2 separate regions of the Homo sapiens genome follow, and region 2 is linked to region 1. Evidence: promoter capture Hi-C in 16 types of primary human blood cells and fetal thymus (Javierre and others, 2016). All regions are on one chromosome and are shown on one strand. The core of a region is centred on a gene start or on the middle of the fragment in contact, and the rest is flanking DNA. Distances in the headings are between cores, read along the strand shown. Region 1 holds the start of MEF2C (myocyte enhancer factor 2C). Region 2 overlaps MEF2C-AS1 (MEF2C antisense RNA 1).

Region 1 (2,771 bases), core at 191-2,690:
TGAAGTCCAGTAAGGTGTGGAAAAGATAGAGTGGGGGGAGGGGGGGAACTCCGAGGAAGCTGCTTCCTCGGTAAATATTTCCAAACTGATTAGAAAGTTCATGGCCCCGCGATGAAGTCGAGATCTCAAATACTGGTAATTATTTTATTATTTCGTACATTACTAACATTAGAGAAACCTTTCGGCTCGCTTTCTAGCGCTCCAACCTCTCAGGGTGAAAACCGCGACTTCTGGGCGTGCAGGAAAAGCACGCTGGAATCGAGTGCTGCAGACATCCTGGACCGTGGTTTTTACGCGTGAGTAACGGAGGAGCGCACCGACCGGTGGAAGAGAGAAGTGGCTAACGCGTGTCCAAAAGGGGGAAAAGTCACAAGAGCAACTATTAGGGTCGCGCTCCTATTGGTCAGAGGAAAGATCCCGACTTTAGAAGGACTTTCCTGCTGGCTGGCTCGCAGCGTCCCCGGAGAGCAAGCGAGCGCGCCGCAGCGGGAGACTAGGTTCTCTCCGAGCGTCCTCCGCAGAGGCGCCGCGAGAGGAGCAGGGAGCCGCAGCTCGCCGTGTTGTCTTCATTTCGTGCAATAAAGAATTGTCATTAGGTTTGCGTATGGCATGTGCTATTACCCCACCGTAAAACTAAAATTAGCAAAATGTCAGGAATGGAAAGATTGATTCACCAAGATGCAATTATCATTTAAAAGTGCTTGATTGAGGTACTGATGTTCAGTGATTTATTCTGCATACCATATACATAATTAAAGTAGTGTAGTGGAGTAATTTATCAATCTAGTTGAGACTGGAGGGGTGAGGAGGGAGCTGCTGTATGTTTGTTTTATTAAAATGCTCCGAGGTCTAGTCCCGCCCCCCTTTTGCAAGAGTGAAACTGATGATTTCTCCAGCTCGCGAGGAAAGAGTCAACGGTTTGGGATTGTGGGGGAGAGAGAGACGGAGAGAAAAAGGCAGCGCGAAGCAAAGGCAAGGACAAAATTAAATAAAGGGGGAAAAAAGGAGGCAAAAGACATTTCATCGGACGTGCTGCTTAGAACCCCAACCATTCGTGCTCCGTCTTCCCTACCACCCCCGCCTCCCCTCCCAGTATCCTTCAATCCCCCCCGCCCCCACCACCCCCAGTCTTTTTTACGCGATGTTTCAAACGCTGTGAGCTGTTCTCCTTTTCCCATTCGTCTTCTGTCACTTCCTTCCTGGACGCAGTTTTCTGGACGAGTCTGGTTACTTTTAATCCGACCGGCCGCTGAGAGCCACTTTCTCCTCCTCCTCCTCCTCCTCCTTCTCTTCCTCCTCCTTCTTCCTCCTCCTCCTCCTCTTCCGAGCGGCCTCGGCGCGCGCGAATGCGCGGCCCCGCGCCCCCCCCCTCGCGCGCGCTCCCCTCGCGCGCGCGCACACACGCACACATCGTCTCCAGCTCTCTGCTCGCTCTGCTCGCAGTCACAGACACTTGAGCACACGCGTACACCCAGACATCTTCGGGCTGCTATTGGATTGACTTTGAAGGTTCTGTGTGGGTCGCCGTGGCTGCATGTTTGAATCAGGTGGAGAAGCACTTCAACGCTGGACGAAGTAAAGATTATTGTTGTTATTTTTTTTTTCTCTCTCTCTCTCTCTTAAGAAAGGAAAATATCCCAAGGACTAATCTGATCGGGTCTTCCTTCATGTAAGTACCCCTGATATTTCTCGAGGAAATAGAAAACCCGGGTATTGTCTCTAAAATCTGCATCAATATATTCCACGGCACTGTGTCTATCTATCCCTGTGCCTTTTTTGAAGGCTGAAGTTGAGGCTCGTTGTGCATTCTTTTTCGTTAGATTCCATGATTTCCTTGTTTGTTGCTAAAAGTAACTTTTTAGATAGTCGTATCCGTTTGCCATCAGCTATTGAAATCACTCCTGACTCGTTCCTGTCACACCAGTGTATTTAAAGTTTCATGAAGTTAGTTCACGTCATTAGCATGTTTGATATGGTGGAGCGTGTGGAGCCTGGTGGATTTTAATATTTCACAGCATGTTCTGTGACCTTGAAGTAGACGCCTTAAGATTTAGCAGTTAGTTCACTGTGGAAAGATGCTCCCATGAGTCCCCCCAAAGACACTGATTTGCCCTGGGTTATGCTTCTGAGCCACTAATTCTTGGGATTAGTTTGACCTAAAGCATGGCTGTCTGTCAGAGTATACCTTTGTGCATTTCCTTCCCTCACCAAAGTGCCGGCTTGACAGAGGGCTTCTTAATTGGTGTGGACAAAAAGTAATATCCCTGCCATAGTAGTCTACACATTTCACAATTCACGTTCGATTTCAGCATATGGATTGCTGTTCAGGTCAAGTCAAATACATAGCTGTTTAAAAGCAAGCAAGGTTAAGTCACTTAAATTGCCTTCTCTTTGGACTTGGAATGAAAGTTACCAAACTCGATGATAAAGTTTGTCACAAAGGAAGTATATATAGATGTGGCACATTGTTTATTTTATTATTAAATATTGTGGAAGTATTTAAATTTAATGCTAATGTTACCTTCCTTCCCTGAACATGGCTATTGCTTTTTAAAGGAAATTTTATATCTGAATCACTTCTGACTATTCTAAGTCCAGTAGTTATCATTCTTTGGGGAGAGCCTTTTTTTGTCACATTTTAGGAATGCGTGTCTTTTGTATAAAATACTTTATATGTAAATGCTGACAGTAGACTAAGTAGAATTGGGCTCTCTGCCAGTTCCTTAACCGGTCCTCAGTGGAGAATTGCTTTGACACAAAGTGCGTTTTAC
Region 2 (2,771 bases), core at 100-2,599, 360 kb before region 1:
ATTTCAGAGTGAGAAGAGTGAGAATAAGGCAGATTCATAATTAATTTACTCTATATTTATACCATAGTAGCTAGGAGCTGCTAACTATATGTATATATACATAAGATATATAAATATACATATATCATACATGTAGATATACAATGATTATATGTGTGTGTATATGTGTGTATGCATACATATACACATATATATAGTATCCAACCTTATATATAATGAGGAATAAACATCTCCCCTATAAATAGGTAATAGAAGAAGTCAGTCTTTCAAAAGAAATGAATCTCTAAGTCATCAGAATACACTCTGATTCAATTTATGGGAATTATGTATTCACTGAAAAAATTATGTCGTCAAGGGTTTTATTGACCCTTGACTACATAAGGTTTTTTGTATAAAATCAAGTATCCAGACTTCTAGGAAATAATGCATAACCACAGGATAACAATGATTATCTCAAAAATAAAGGACTATGAGAAATTAGAGGAGAGGGAGAATATGTCTGTCTGGGATGATTAGGAAATAATTCACTGAAGATGTGATAGCTGTGCTGGGAATTAAGAGTAAGCAGGATCTGAACAAGAATAGAAGAGAATGAAGAATATTTTTAGTTTCATGAGCATTGGTCTACAGAAGAAAAATGATAAAAATAAATATTGGGAACTGTGTCGGTCTTCAATGCTGTTCATCAATATCTGTTTTTCTTCTCCTGTTCCACATGTTCGGTTGCACTTTCTAGTTTCACTAACAATGAGTTAGGGCTATGTGACTAATTCTGGCCAGGGAGTTGTGAATTGAAGTGATGTTTATCACTTCTGTTCCATAATATTTAATTGCTAGTGCAAAACCCTCTAAAGTTATTTCCTACGTGATAGAGAGCAGCAACATTCAAGATGGTGGCTGTTCCCTTAGCCTGGGTCTTTGAGTGACTGCAGTGAACAGAGAACATTCTGGCTGGACTGAAATGACTACATCAATTGTGTAAGAAATAAACTTGTGTTATTTTGAGACACAACTTTTGGAGCAGCTTGTTACCACAATTTAACCTAGACTATACAAGCAAATAACAGAAAGAGCAAGATGTCCAATTTGACAGGCATATGAGGAATATTAAATAGAGAAATAATAAGTTTGAAGGGGTAAACAAATCAATTTGCAGAGAAGCAGAATTTCAGCTTAAAGGGTTTGGACTTTATTTTATAGGCAATGGAGAGCTGTTAAAAGCTTTCAAACAGGGAAATATGATGAACAGAATTGTGCTTTAGGAAAATTAATCAAGCAGGATAGAGGATGCCTAGGAAGCGGAAAGACACTTAGTAATATGAAAACAAGTTATACTATTGTGAAAAGCCTAGAAGTCATGGAGTTTAAACTAGGGTAGTGGCAGTGGGAACCAATTTGACAGAATGAATAGAACAGTAATTTGCAGGTCCTGGCAACTGATGAGACCCAAGGGACTTATAAATCATTCCAAGCTTTTGATCCTGGATGATTGCTAAGATGGTGCCACTGCCACTTACTTAAATAGGAAGCAGAGAAAGAGGAACAAATTTAAGAGGAAAAGTGCATACTTAGGTCAAGTGTGACATCCAACTAGCAATGTCTGGCAGACAACTGGAAACAAATCAAATATGGATTGGAGAGTTATTTGCAATATGAAGCCATGATATGAATGAGACTGTCAAGGAAGAAAGAAGAAAATTAAGAATATAACTTTGGGAAACACCTGCATTTACACAACAAAAAGGAGAAGAACAAAGATATCAAGAAAGGTGTACTTTCACAAAACCGAAAATCAAGAAAGCAGGAAATTTCAAGAAAATGAGGGTAATTAACAGCACCAAATGTAAGGATGGATTAAAAATGATGAGTATTTTTTAAAATCTAGTAGATGTGGTGACTTTTAATGGAGCAGTTTCAAGTGATAACTGCAGGAGGAAGCCAACATTCAAAAGATTGGGAAGTGAGTCATGCAAAAAAAAATTGAGGCTGTGGTTTCTTTATATGGTGGAAAATTACTTAGCAATTAAAATAAATGGACTAAATTATTACATAAGAAAACGTTCATTTCAAAAATACATTCAGTAAAAAAAGAAAATGGCAAAATTATACATACAATGTGATTCTACTTATTAAACATACAAATAATATACGCATATATTATTTATGAATACATGCATGTTATATGTGTATCTATATACATCATAAATACTAACACATGCATTGAGATAACTGTGAAAGTAAAATGTAACCTCTCCTTTAAAGATGTTAAATGGTGAAAGAAAAGAAAGAAATAGGTAGTACCTTGATAGATAAGGAGATAAGAAATACAACAAATGTTCACTAAATTTCCATATTAGATAGAGTCTTTTTGGCTTTTAATTTTTCAATATAAATTTATAGACAATGAAATAACTGCAATGAAGCAATCGTGTTTAATTTATATCCAGTTCTGAAGAAAGAAATATTTTCCTATTAGTAACATTTTATGATATGGCGTGTCACAGATAGATTTCTGACTTTGGAGCTATGTAAATGAAATCTGTGACTTTGAGGAAATTATGACCACAGCTTCAGCTTCTTATCTGTAGAGGAGAAGATAATAACTTCCACCTCAAATATTTTTTATAAAGACCAGGAATAACATAAGTTTCTAAGTGTGGTGTTTGTCACATAGAAAGCACTCAATAAATGGTAGTTGTTATTTTCACTTTCCTTACAAATGATGAAGAAGAAAAAAACCATGATGCTGTCCCTCCTGCATACTAGACAGT

What was found. The method cuts DNA at HindIII sites, captures the fragments that hold promoters and counts their contacts. A CHiCAGO score of 5 or more calls a contact.
Region 2: a fragment that was not itself captured here is called in contact with the fragment with the promoter of MEF2C in region 1 in 1 of 17 cell types (megakaryocytes); the score reaches 5.1 in megakaryocytes.

What each region holds. Positions count from the first base shown.
Region 1 is chr5:88,881,853-88,884,623 of GRCh38, reverse strand. It overlaps MEF2C (myocyte enhancer factor 2C), which reads left to right and starts at 1,440. Exons shown (of 11, transcript NM_002397.5): 1 at 1,440-1,669. It overlaps MEF2C-AS1 (MEF2C antisense RNA 1), which reads right to left and starts at 1,294. Exons shown (of 10, transcript NR_136219.1): 1 at 1,139-1,294. RefSeq lists an enhancer at 333-382. The HindIII fragment of the contact is 10,727 bases long and covers 1-2,771 here.
Region 2 is chr5:89,245,663-89,248,433 of GRCh38, reverse strand. All of the region lies in intron 7 of MEF2C-AS1 (MEF2C antisense RNA 1), which reads right to left. Among named protein-coding and RNA genes, the nearest start is that of LINC02161, 330 kb to the left of the region's middle. The HindIII fragment of the contact is 251 bases long and covers 1,224-1,474 here.